2 separate regions of the Homo sapiens genome follow, and region 2 is linked to region 1. The links are contacts of gene promoters, found by promoter capture Hi-C in blood cells and fetal thymus (Javierre and others, 2016). All regions are on one chromosome and are shown on one strand. The core of a region is centred on a gene start or on the middle of the fragment in contact, and the rest is flanking DNA. Distances in the headings are between cores, read along the strand shown. Region 1 holds the start of PDCD6IP (programmed cell death 6 interacting protein). Region 2 has its middle 21 kb from the start of EPM2AIP1.

The links. The method cuts DNA at HindIII sites, captures the fragments that hold promoters and counts their contacts. A CHiCAGO score of 5 or more calls a contact.
Region 2: a fragment that was not itself captured here is called in contact with the fragment with the promoter of PDCD6IP in region 1 in 2 of 17 cell types (M0 macrophages and M2 macrophages); the score reaches 11.0 in M0 macrophages.

What each region holds. Positions count from the first base shown.
Region 1 is chr3:33,795,555-33,802,586 of GRCh38, forward strand. PDCD6IP (programmed cell death 6 interacting protein) reads left to right here and starts at 3,076. Exons shown (of 18, transcript NM_013374.6): 1 at 3,076-3,383. The coding sequence starts at 3,175. It overlaps PDCD6IP-DT (PDCD6IP divergent transcript), which reads right to left and starts at 2,965. Exons shown (of 2, transcript NR_183731.1): 1 at 2,841-2,965; 2 at 1-2,468. RefSeq lists enhancers at 2,943-3,292, 3,239-3,772. The HindIII fragment of the contact is 5,708 bases long and covers 1-3,721 here.
Region 2 is chr3:36,968,403-36,975,434 of GRCh38, forward strand. No RefSeq gene overlaps it. Among named protein-coding and RNA genes, the nearest start is that of EPM2AIP1, 21 kb to the right of the region's middle. RefSeq lists enhancers at 1,347-1,396, 1,487-1,546. The HindIII fragment of the contact is 2,991 bases long and covers 1,740-4,730 here.

The DNA.
Region 1 (7,032 bases), core at 1,826-4,325:
ACTAATATACCATAATTCTTTGCTTATTGGCCTATTGCCTAATTAGCTGGAGTGCTTGTTGTTGGTGAAAGTGTGTTATTTTGGAAGTAGAGAATATATTTTATATATATATATTTTTTTTTTTTACAAGGGTGAAACTTATTTAATGATATTTATTGAATGCCTGCTATACCAAGTGCTAGAGATGCATCAGTATACAAAACACACAATTTTTGCCCTCATGGAGCTTACATTTTAGTGGGGAAGTCAGATAAAAATTATATCAACAAACAAAATACTTGCAAGTTAGGGTAAGTGTTATGAAGGAACTAATGGCTGCGCTAGAGGTTAACAAGGGAGGGAATCTACTTTAGATAGTATGATGATGAGGAGAGGAGACCTTTCAACTGAGATATGAAGAAAGGGAGAAAACATTCTAGGTCACATGAGGCAAGAAAGATCTTGGTGTGTTTGAGAAACTAAAAAGACCATTGTGACTCAGTGGTAACAAATGAGGAACAAGAGGCAAAATATGAAGTTGCAGAGAAAGATCATCATGTTGTGGCAGGGAGTTTGGTTTTCATTCCAAGCCATCAGATAGTATCACCTTAATCTTCCTTTGGTCAATGCCACAAAACTAACCACATCTATGTTAACTTTCTTTTCTCCGCCATCTGCCTCAACAAATGTCATGTCCCTCATCTTTCTGATGGCTAATCACTCCCTTTGTATCCTCCCTCCTCTGGTTACCCTTTCTCCTCTTTTCATATACTTTGCTTCTTCGTTATCTTCCCAATGGGTCAGTCCTGTCAACCAACCTACAAGACACCACCCATCCCCCACCCTCTTCCATGGGTTATCAACTGGTAATGATTCTACTAACCACTCAGATGTTCAGGCCCCAAAACCAGGACCTATCTTGACCACTCTCTTTTCTTTACTTTCCTATGCAGTTCATTGGTAAATTCTTCAGTTTTAAACTCAAAGATATTATCAGTTTGGTTCACTCTTGCTAATGTTAGCTTTCCTGATTTCGTCTTGATTTCTGAAATGGTCTCATGATTTGCCTCCTTGCCTCCATTCTTTCCTTCCTCTAATTTTTTCTTTATGCATCAGCCAAGGGTGGCTACTTATTTTAACATAGAATAGCTTAATTAAAATAAACAAAAATTTTTATAAATTGTGGTAAAATAGGCCGGGTGCAGTGGCTCACGCCTGTAATCCCAGCACTTTGGGAGGCTAAAGCGGGTGGATCACTTGAGGCCAGGAGTTCGAGACCAGCCGGGCCAACATCGCGAAATCCAGTCTCTATTAAAAATACAAAAATTAGCCAGGCATGTGGTGTGCACCTGTAGTCCCAGCTACTCAGAAGGCTGAGGCAGGAGAATAGCTTGAACCTGGGAGGTGGAGGTTGCAGTGGGCTGAGATTGTGCCACTGCACTCCAGCCTGGGTGACAGAGTGAGACTCTTTCTAAAAAAAAAAAAATTGTGGTAAAATAAACTTTTACTATAATGAAAGTAGTCTATGTGCTGCAAAAGTTACAATGAAAAAGATAGGCAAACACAAAGAAAAAAATACACATTTCCACTTCCAAAGATTACCAATACTAACACCTTAGGGTATAAGCCCACTATTTTTTTAGTTGTACATAAATACATATATGTGCATTTTTAAACCAAAATGAGATGCTGTAACATACTATTTCGTGACTTGCTCTTTTCAGTTAATGATCTTTTCCATGGCAATACAGTTCTATTTTATCCAATACTCAGTCCATCTACATTCATATTTCTTTAATGGTCCTGAAAATGCATTTTATAGACAGTCTGTTCAAACCAGGATCCAATTCAAACTGTTATGTCCCTTAAATTTCTTTTCATAAAGCAGTTGCTTTTATCATGACAAATTGTTGAAGAGATGGGCCAGTTATCCTGCAGAATGTTTCACCTTCTGGATCTGTCTAGTTACTTCCTCTGGCATCATTTAGTTTGTTCATCTATCTGTTGTATTTTTTATAAACTGTGTTAGATGCAAAGGCTTGACAGATTCAAGTTAAATATTTTTGCCTGGAATATACCATGATGATACTGTATACTACATCCCATCAAAAGACAAACTATCCGATTGAGCTACAACGTGGCCTTTAAAAAATGTAAATTATAAGTGTATATAGCTTCCTCTGCATTTATTATACAATACTAAACAAATTCTTCAACTTGGACAACAAGTTTCTGAATGATTTGATGCCTGCTTACTCATCCAACTTTATTCCATCCCATTCTATTTGTTTTTAAAGGTCTTGTCACATGTTTCGTTTCTAGTCCTGAAACATGGTTAAGTGCTTGCCTCCTAGGGCCTCTGCCGCAGGCTTTTGGTTTGGAGGCTCTCCTTTGCCACTCCACCCCTCTCCACTCTTCTCCTCTTCTGATATCAAGCATCTTCTCAAATTACAGGTGTCGTTTTTAATTTATTTAAAATTTTGTTCTTTCTACAAAACAGCAACCAGAGACACAGGTTCATTTTCAGTTAACCTACTCGGAGAAAACCTACTTTATCTTATTTAAATTAGGGTCCTCCAAGCGATCTTAACATCTCCTAAGTCCCAAGCACCCTGTTTTTTTCCTGATACTTTTTCCGTTTACCTTAAGGTCTGTGTCAACCTGACAGTAAGCTGCACGATGGCAGGGGTCTTGCCTACTAGGTTCCCTGTGCACAGCAGCCCGTCAACAGTAGTTGAATAAACATCATAGGTCACAATAACCCTGGGACTGCCTCTTGGGGAGGTAGCCGCAAACTCTCGCAGGTGGCAGTGACACCAGTACTTCTCCGGGGGGTTGTTCGAGTGGAGGAATACTCTTACGTGAAAGTGCTCAGTACACCACTGCGGCAGGAAGGAGGAAGGGAAGAATTCCAGATGGGGAGAAAGTAATATTTTGCAGCACAGTACAGGGTAAACTGGGTCCAGGTGGGCGTAGCCGCCGCGACACCTTCACGTGACCGCGGACAGCTTAAGGACCCCGCATCCAGTGCGCCTGCGCTGGAGCTCCCGGAAGTTGCCGGACCCGGAACGCAGGCGGAGCGCAAGTCTGTCAGCCAGTCAGTCCGCCAGTCCGCCAGCCCAGTACCTCTCTCTCCTCGGCCCTCGTAAGCTGTCCGCGGTCTGTTTGGCCCGAACGGCGGCGGAGGCGCTGATCATGGCGACATTCATCTCGGTGCAGCTGAAAAAGACCTCAGAGGTGGACCTGGCCAAGCCGCTGGTGAAGTTCATCCAGCAGACTTACCCAAGCGGCGGGGAAGAGCAGGCCCAGTACTGCCGCGCGGCGGAGGAGCTCAGCAAGCTGCGCCGCGCCGCAGTCGGTCGTCCGCTGGACAAGCACGAGGGCGCGCTCGAGACGCTCCTGAGGTGGGCGCGGGGCTGGGAGTGGGTAGGTTGTCTGCCAGCCGTCGCTCGCCGCTCCTCTTCCCGTCTCCCCCCTTCCTTCAATCCTGTAACCTGGGCGGAGCCGCCCCGTCCCGGCCTGACCAGGCGCGTAGGTGTGGTCTGCATTCTTTGCTGGTGAGCAGGACCCGCCCTGCAGGCCCGCTGTGACTGCCCGCTTGTCCTGCCTGCACGTCTGCTCTAGCCCTTGGTCGGCGAGGGCTCCGTGGATCAGATACCTGGGAGCAGCAGTCTGCCCTGTACTGATCTCTTTTGCCACATTTACTTAGAACTAGTCTTCACTTTTTTGGGTCTCTAACTGAAGCTTCCCCTTTCGCCCCATTTTTCCATCACTGTCTTTCTTGGGCCACATTTTGATTTCATAATAGTAGTTGCTTGAAGGCAGTGGGGGAAGTGGGGGAATTGGGACACTGGACCAAATGTCTGATCAGCTCATCACATTGTCCACATGAAATGGACCGTCTTCCTCAGTTCAAAATAATCAAATGATAGATGGAGAATTCTGAAAGTTAGGAGCTACAACTATTTGAAATAAAACTCTAGTTACATAGTTGAACCGTTCAAGGTAGGTTGTTTAAAAGCAGTTTGTTCACAAACAGATATATACACAGTAGAGTAAATTTGTTATTTTAGCAAACGCTTATTTAGCTCATGCTGATTTAATGAGGGTTCCTTTCATGATACTTAATAGTTATAAGAACATTTTTTACGATTTTATAGTTAAACATTTCTTTTGCATACCTTGTTAATCTCGTTTTCTCCGTATAGTATATTCTACTTGTTTCACAGGAGAATCACAATTGTATTCCAATCCAAGTAGCAGAAACCCAGGCTAAACTAGCTTGAGCTAAGAAAAGACTTATTCTGCCGGGCGCGGTGGCTCACGCCTGTAATCCCAGCACTTTGGGAGGCCGAGGCGGGCGGATCACGAGGTCAGGAGATCGACACCATCCTGGCTAGCACGGTGAAACCCCATCTCTACTAAAAATACAACAAATTAGCCGGGCGTGGTGGCGGGTGCCTGTAGTCCCAGCTACTCGGGAGGCTGAGGCAGGAGAATGGTGTGAACCTGGGAGACGGAGCTTGCAGTGAGCCGAGATCGCGCCACTGCACTCCAGCCTGGGCGACAGAGTGAGACTCCATCTCAAAAAAAAAAAAAAAAAAAAAAAAAAGTAAGACTTATTCTGCTAACTGAAAAGTCTAGGGATATTCCTTCCTTAGCTTTAGGTATCACTGGAGATCGTCTTGCCTCCGTGATGCTTCCCTCGAAAGCTTTGTTCATGTATTGAGAGGGATGGCTGTAGTGTAATAACAATCGTCCGCAACACTCAGTATCTTACAGAAGGGAGTGCTTTTCTCCTTAGCTCTGGTGGAAGTCCATGGGAGGCTCCTGGGTTTGTTTGCACCCATTTATGATGGTGGGAAATGGGCTAAGTTAATTGCCCTTATCTGAGTCATCCAGCCGGTTTAATTTCTCCTTACCCCATGGATCAAAGCAAGATGAGTCCGGACTGGGGAAGGGTTGGTTCTCCGAAGGAAGGGGTACTGAATAGATTGCTCAGAGGAATTAAGACCCCTTGGTGTCAAATTTTAGAGCTACAACTGTTGGGCTGCAAGGATCATTAGTCTAATAGCATAAGCATTTTTTTTAAAGTTAACCTAGAAATACTTAGCCATTCTTTAGAATTAACATAATTAAACAATTTCAAGGTAATTTTTATGTAGGCATGAATAGCATTCAGTGAGGATTTTCCATTAGTAATATTAAGAAAACATAGTTGTGGTATAATGAGCCCTGTGATAAAAATCTTGTTGAATATATCAAATTTGGTTCCAGCCCTCAGATTTGGGGTCTTCAGAAGCACTTGGTGCATGGGTTTTAAGCTAACAGACATGGGAGGTTGGTGGATAATGGTTTGGATACGGTTCTCCTGTCAACTTTAAAACTTAATTCATTTGTTCCTTCCTTTATTCTTTTTACCAGACTTAAATGTGTGAACTGTTCCTAGGTAGTGGACCTGTTGTAGATATAGTCTCTTTGAAACTAACCATGTTTCTTTAGTCACCTCTGTATAATCCCCTCCTGCCACATTAATTCAACAAATATTAAGTATTTTCACTTTTTGGGCTTCTAGAGGGGTTAGGGTAAGCTTGGAGATATTACTAAAGTTTATAATGGAGGTAGGTACAAAAGTTTTGTAGGTATATACGCTGTAAAATTAGATGTGAATCAGTTGTGTGATGTTCATTCAAATCCGGCAGAATATCTTATTTTTAATAATTATGTTTGGATAATTGTGTAAACTTAACATTAATTTTTTAACTTAATGAACTTTTTAAACTAATGAACTTTGAAAAACAGAGTTTAAACTAATTCCTAAATAATTGAAGCCAGCTTGATAAGTCCTGATATGCAGCTCCATATATTGCTCCAGTGATAGACTTGTTTTCTTATTACTAACTTGTAGGTGTTCTATTAAAATTTCCTAAAATATACATTTATGCATATTATAATAATGAGAATGAGTACTTAAAAACTCATTTGTTCTGGGTGTGGTAGCATGCACTCATAATTCCAGCTGAGGCAGAAGGATCACTAGAGCCCACGAGTTGGAGACCAGCCTGAACTACATACTGAGACGCTGTCTCAAAACAAAACAAAACAACAACAACAAAAAACCCTTTTATATGATACTTCTTCCTTTATAAAGTGGCTTTTACTAAAAATTGATTAGACCTTGGTAAATGGTGACCTAGGGTGATCAAATGGGAACCCTGCTGGTTTTTTATTTTTATTTTGTATTTTATTTGAAGCTCCAGATATACCATTTACCAGCATTGTGTAATTTCTTTTGTGGTGATCAGTTTCTTTAGAGAGAAAGCTTCTAGTCTTCCATGAAAAAGTCTGCTTATCAGCTTTCTAAATTTTATCCTGGGGAATGGAGGTTGGGGATCTTAACAATCATGTATGCAGTCTATCAGGTACATCTATTTTTAGTATGACACCTGCATTAGGGTTAGGTTCATTTCTGTGTGGTAGATCCCAAATTATCTGAGTTAAGATTTTATTTTGTAAAAAGTTGGCAGGTAGGTAGTTCTGGTAGCCCAGGGCTGGTGTAGTGTTTCTGTGGAGTTAATTGGGGCTCAGATTCCTTTCAGCTTTCTGCTGTTTGAAACCTAGAATATTGTTCTCAGGTCCAGGTTGCAATCATATCCAAGTTCCAGGTAGTAGGATGGAGAAAGGCACGGGGCTCGCCCTTTAGGGTGTTTCCTGGCAACTGTTCCACAACACCCTGCCTATATGTTACCGGCCATTTTGTGTGTCCTTCTGATAGGATGCTAGGAAAAGGAATTTTCATTATGAGCAGCTGTATACTCAGCTAAAGGGACACAGTTTTGTTAATAAGGAATAGGATAGACTGATAATGATGTAGTCAATTAGCACTCCCTACCCCACTTAGCAGTGCTTGATCTCCACCTTAGTTATATTTGATATCTCTGACATTTTTTTCTTTTTTCTTTTTTTTTTTTTTGAGGTGGAGTTTTGCTCTTGTTACCCAGGCTGGAGTGCAGTGGCATGATCTCGGCTCACCACAACCTCCGCCTCTCGGGT
Region 2 (7,032 bases), core at 1,985-4,484, 3.2 Mb after region 1:
TTTTGCTTCTCCTGATGAGGGAAAAATTATAAAAATTCTAAGACAGGAAAGTTATGATCCAAACTTGAAATAAACAAATGTGGTATGAATTTGGGCAACTGTGGTTCTTTAAGAAAAGAGAATCCACCATGCAATTTTCTTTTTCTTTTTTTTTTTTTTTTTTTTTTGAGACAGGGTCTCACTCTGTCACCCAGGCTGGAGTGCAGTGGTGATCTCAGTTCACTGCAACCTCTGCTTCCCGGGGTCAAGTGATTCTCATGCCTCAGCGTCCCAAGCAGCTGGGATTACAGGTGCCCGCCACAACACCTGGCTAATTTTTGTATTTTTTAGTAGAGACAGGATTTCACCCTGTTTGTCAGGCTGGTCTTGAACTCCCGAACTCAAGTGATCTGCCAACCTCAGCCTCCCAAAGTGCTGGGATTATAGGCGTGAGCCACCGCGCCTGGCCCATCATAGAATTTTCTAGGAATATTGTCCTTTGAGAGGTCTAGGGTGATGACATAATTATACAAGAAAACATAATGTCATAACAATTTAATATTTTTAGTAATTTTAAATTTGTGTCATCAACCTACAGACAAAGGATGGGGGTTCAGGTTTCTGAACAGAATGTAAATTTTCAACCTCAACAATGTAAATATCAAAGTGAAGCTCACAGAAACCAGAAGGTAGAAGTAGGAAAAGAGATGGAGGCAAGGGTAGGGGAAAAAAGTCAAGAGACGTTAGTGAAAATTGACAGAATTAAAAACAAATAGTTTAAGAACAGAATCTAAATGTATAAAAGTAACCAATGGAAAGAAAACCAATGATACAACAAAAGTCATGGTAAAAAGAAGAAAAGGAGAAATGGGGTGGTATTAATTAGTTAAATCCTTATTAATCATAAGCAATAAGTAGACAATGCCTACAGTTGATAAATTAAGAATTAGCAATATACAGAAATATATATGAAACCAAAATAACTAATGAAAGAAAAGGAGGCTGGGCACGGTGGCTCAGGCCTGTAATCCCAGCACTTTGGGAGGCAGAGGCAGGCAGATCATTTGAGTCCCGGAGTTTGAGACCAGCCTAAGCAACGTAGTGAGACCTCATCGCTACAAAAAAACAGAAAAATTAGCTGGGTGTGGTGGTGTATGCCTGTATTCCCAGCTACTTCAGAGGCTGAGGCAGGAGAATCAGTTGAGCCCAGAAGGTGGAAGCTACAGTGAGCCAACAGAGTGAGACCATCTCAAAAAAAATTTAAAAAAATGAAGAAGGAAGGAAGGAAGAGAGGGAGGGAGGGAGCGTGGGCGGGGGGGGGGGGGTGGAGGAGGAGGAGAGAAGGAGTGGGAGGAGTGGAGAAGGAGGGGGAGGAGGAGAAGGATAAAAGGTTACAAGTGGTTGTTACTAGGAATGGGGGAGAAGAGAAGTGGGTAATGGCACTGAAGCTTTTTATTATGTCTTTCAGCATTCTCTGATTGTTCTTAAACCATCAACAGATCTCAGTATGTAGACTAAAAGGGAATATTTGGTGAAGAGATCTTCTTTCACTATTGTACACTTGCTATGGACATGTCCATGCCTGCTGCCTGGCAGGCACCATTCATTAAGTAGGCCCCTGTTGCCAAGGAAACCAGCTCTTCACTGATACCAAAGATAATGCAGAGGCCTGCCGCTCACCAAGCAACCTTCCTCATGAGCTATGCCCCCACCTTCCTGAACTGTCTCTTGCTCCTGTTTGATACTGTCATGCTGCACGAAGCTTACACTTGCTATCTCTCACTTCCCTCTTAGTCATCTGTGATGCTGGCTAAGGGAGCTAGGCCAGTCAGCAGTGACCTGTTGCCCTTGGTTTATTATAAGCAAACTGTTCACAAGAAATGAACTTCTGTTGTTTTATAAATGATATGCATCACAGAACACAGAATAATATCAAAACCACATTAGTTTTTTCATACTTGCTTCATTGACCCCAGGGGAAGAGGGGAGAGCAGGGAGAGGACTTTCTCTTTTTTTAAATACTAATTATATTGAGGTATAAAGAACATATAGTAAGTTCACAGACCTTAAGTATACAGTTTGATGAGTTTTGGCAAATATGTATACCTGTGGAACCAACACCTCAGTCAAGATATAAATACTTACATCAGCCGGGCGCAGTGGCTCATGCCCGTAATCCTAGCACTTTGGGAGGCCAAGGCAGGTGGATCATGAGGTCAGGAGATCGAGACCATCCTGGCTGTCCACTAAAAATACAAAAAATTAGCCAGGCATGGTGGCACATGCCTGTTGTCCCAGCTACTCAGGAGGTTGAGGCAGGAAAATCGCTTGAACCCGGGAGGCAGAGGTTGCATTGAGCCGAGATAGCACCACTGCACTCCAGCCTGGGCAACAGAGAGAGACTCCGTCTCAAAAAAACAAAAAACAACAAAAAAAACCATACATCGACCCAGAAAGTTCCTTCTGTCAGTAGCAGTTCACCCCCCCATGCCCCCAACCCTTGGCCTCCCTGCCTTCCCATCTCCACTCCCAACCCTCACTGCTCTGATTCTATCACCATTGTTTTGATTCTTCTGCTGTTGATCTTCATAAAACCAGTATATTTCCTTTTGTGTCTGGTTTATTTTCCTCAGAATAATGTTTTTAACATTTATCCATATTGTTATGTGTATCAGTCGTTTCTTCCAGATTAGTACTCTATTGTATGGATAGAGCCTATTTTGTTTACCCATTTCCTGTTGACAGACATTTGGTTTGTTCCCAGTTTTGGATTATAATGAATAAAGCTGCTATGAACATTCTTGAACGATGAACATTTTTGTGGACATATGTTTTGATTTTTTTGTGTAAATACCTAGGAGTGAAATTATTGAGGTATGGTATAGGTTTATGCTTAATTTTATAGAGTACTTAAACTTGATTCTTTTATTTAAAATTGTGATAAAATACACATAACATAAAATGAACCGTCTTAACTGTTTTTAACTGTACAGTGCAGTGGTACGAAGCACATTCACATTGTTGCACAACCATCACCACCATCCATCTGCAGAATTATTTTTATCTTGCAAAACTGGAACTCTGAACCAGGTGCGGTGGCTCACGACTGTAATCTCAGCACTTTGAGAGGCCGAAGCAGGAGGATCGCTTCAGCCCAGGAGTTTGAGACCAGCTGGGGCAATATAGTGAGACACCGTCTCTATAAAAACAAAATAAAAATAGACCAGGCGCGATGGCTCATGCCTGTAATCCCAGCACTTTGGGAGGCCATGGTGGGCAGATTGCCTGAGCTCAGGAGTTCAAGACCAGCCTGCCCAACATGGTGAAACCCCATCTGTACTAAAAATACAAAAAATTACCTGGGCATGGTGGCGCGCACCTGTAGTCCCGGTTACTCTGGAGGCTGCAGCAGGAGAATCGTTTGAACCTGGGAGGCGGAGGTTGCAGTGAGCCAAGATCGTGCCACTGCACTACAGCCTGGGCAACAGAGTGAGACTCTATCTCAGAAAAATAAAATAGCTGGGCGCGGTGGCTCATGCCTGTAATCCCAGCACTTTGGGAGGCTGAGGCGGGCGGATCACGAGGTCAGGAGATTGAGACCATCCTGGCTAACACGTGAAACCCCGTCTCTACTAAAAATACAAAAAAATTAGCTGGGAGTAGTGGCGGGCGCCTGTAGTCCCAGCTACTCAGGAGGCTGAGGCAGGTGAATGGCATGAACCCGTGAGGTGGAGCTTGCAGTGAGCCGAGATCATGCCACTGCACTCCAGCCTGGGCGACAGAGCGAGACTCCATCTCAAAATAAATAAATAAATAAATGAAATGAAATAAAATAAAATAAAATAAAAATAGCCAAGTATAGTGATACACATCTGTAGTCCCAGCTACTCAGGAAGCTGAGGTGGGAGGGTCACTTGAGCCCAGGAGTTCAAGGCTGCAGTGAGCTTTGAGCGTGCCATTGTACTCTCCCTGGGTGACAAAGCAAGGCCCTATCTAAAACAAACAAACAAGCAAACAAAAAACCCCAAAACTGGAACTCTGTATCTATTAAACAGTAATCTCTCATTGAGTGGTGTTAAGAGTAAAATTTTTTTTAACAAAAGAAAAAAGTAAAAAGTAAATTTTGAAAAAAGAATTAAAAACAAAAAATCTCCATTACCCCCTCCCCCAGCCCCTGGCAACCACCATTCTACTTTCTGTCTTTCTGAATTTGACTACTGCACATAACCTTATATAGGTGGAATCAAACAGTATTTGTCTTTTTGTGACTGACTTATTTCACTTAGGATAGTGCCCTCAGCTTTTAAAAGGAAAGACATTTTGATATATGCTACAACATAATATTCCATTGTATGTACATACCAAATTTTATTAACGATTTCATCTGTCAATGAACATTTGGGTTGCTTCCACCTTTTGTCTATTGTGAATAATGCTGCCGCGAACATGTTTAAGTCCTTGCTTTCACTTTTTTGTGTATACACCCAGAAGTTGAAATGCTGGATTATATGTAATTCTATTTTTAATATGAGTGACTGCCATACTGTTTTCTATAGTGGCTGTACCGTTTTACGTTCCCACTAAGAGAACATGAGTGTTCCAGTTTCACCATATCCTCACCAACACTTATTTTCTGTTTTGTTGGTGGTAGCCATCCTACTGGATGTAAACTTTATTCATTTTTCGAACCTTTTTAATATGGAATTTTCAAACACACACAAAAGATGAGAGATCTCCAGGTACCCACCACAAGCTTTAATAATGATTAACATTTGGTAGCAGGTGGACAAAGATATACCTTCTCTATAGCAGCTATAAGATCAGGGACAAACAAAGATCTATTTGGAACTCCAACTAAGAATGGTGTTTTGTAGGCTGCCTGATGAATAAGGTTAGATAACTAATGGCCAGTCTTTCAGCCTGTGCTCAAGGGATAGGATAACAATAAAGCATAGTTGGTGAAGGAGCAGCAGATAAAGGTCACAATAGATAGGCCATAAGAGAACCCTCACTATCACTTACCATTCAGACCATTCGCTTCATATTCTAACAAGTTATTTTCCTTTCATAAAAGGAAGCTGAAGCTTTTATTTGTGTTTGTGGTGCATGTGATCCATGAGAGGGGACTCAACCAGGTGCTATGTGTGAGTAGTACTTAATCCGACAGTATTAGTGGGCTGGTGGGCTTTCCTGGTTACATGGGAACCCTAGAAACCCAAGCCAAGCACAAAAGCCAAGACTGAATTCTCCAGTAAGTCACCTGGTAGCCTTGACATGCTCATGCTTAAAAAAGAGCCAGTGACCTATTAATAGGAAGCTCCTGAAATGAGTCCTCTGAACATCTGCAAGTATGGTCAGCTACACCTGAGCTGAGACTTGCCTGTTTCCCTGCCAGGAAATCATGGGCTCAGAAATGGCAGGTACCATGTGTATTAACTATATTTCCTTACTTTCTGTCTTCTTGATGTTCTAGCATCAGGTGCCTCTTTGACCTAAGAGACTTCCCCTCCTAGGACTAGCTAATTCCTAGAAATATCAAACCACTCCCCTGTAAGCATGCCATTCCTATGCAAACCAACCAATCCAGAGCCCATACTCGAAACCACTTCCTTTACCTGGCTCTTCCACACCAGAGGGCAATGTTCCTCTGTCCTAATCATTCTCAGGGCTAGATATCAGATAACTACAAATGCTCCTTGACTTATGGTGGGGTTACATCCTAATAAACCCATCATAAGTTGAAAATATCATAAGTCAAAAGTACATTTAAATCAGGTGTGGTGGCACATGCCTGTAGTCCCAGCTATCTTGGGAGGCTGAGACAGGAGGATCACTTGAGGCTGTGGTGCACTATGATCATGCCTGTGAATAGCCACTGCACCCCAGCCTGGGCAACAGAGTGAGACCTCATACCTTAAAAAAAAATTAAAAAACAAGCTCTCACCAGTCGAAGATGAGGCAACATAAGCAATAAGCACTAAAAAGAATAATGACTGCAAACCAAAATAAATAAGAAGATAAAAGTCCACAAGTTTATAAATAAAAGGTTTTATTTAAAAGCCCACAAGTAAAAAAGAGGAGAGAAACGCTAACTCCTAACTCTGAAAATTAGTAATTAAAGGGAAAGAAGCCTTCAACAATTTTTTTTTTTCTGAGACAGAGTCTTGCTCTGTCACTCAGGCTGAAGTACAGTGGCATAATCACAGCTCACTGCACCCTCAAACTCCTGGGCTTAAGCAATTCTCCTGCCTCAGCCTCCCAAGTGGCTTGGACTACAGGTGTGTGCCTCCACACTCGGCTGATTTTAAATGTTTTGTAGAGATGGGGTCTCACTATATTGCCCAGGCTGGTCTCCAACTCCTGAGCTCAAGCAAAACTCCCACCTCAGCCTCCCAAGTAGCCAGGGCCATAGGTGTGCACCACCATGCCCAGCTAATTTTCCTTTTTTCCATTTTGTAGAGATGGGCTCTCGCCATGTTGCCCAAGCTGTTCTCCAACTCCTGAGCTCAGACAATCCTCCCGCCTCGGCCTCCCAGGTGTGAGCCACTATGCCTGGCCAAAAATTTTTTAATGAAGTCCCCCTGGGTCCAGGCACTGGTTTGGGCACTGAAGATTCAGCAGTAAAGTAAAATAAATTTCCTCATTGATCTTGTCAGTGACTCCTTTGCATGCTTGCTTCACACTATATTTCAAGGTAACCAAATAGTTGTAGTTAGAAAAAGTTCCATCTTACAGAAAACTTTCAGCTAATAAATGTAGAGGGAATGATAAAGTTAGAAAAATAACTATATTTTAAGTCCTAATGAAACAACAGACCCACACAACAATGACCAACGGATGAAAAATATCAGGTGAAACACTTATACGGAACCTGTCAGTGGCAAGATTGGGCTGTAACCACCTGAAACCACTGACCAATCTCGGCATTACTAAAACAGGGCTGACCAGATAGTCTGTGATTCTGATGTAAAGCAATAAGGAGTACATAGCACCACCTTTTCAGTAGCCAAAACAGTTAAACCTGAATCTAATCAAGACTTTAGAATTACCTTT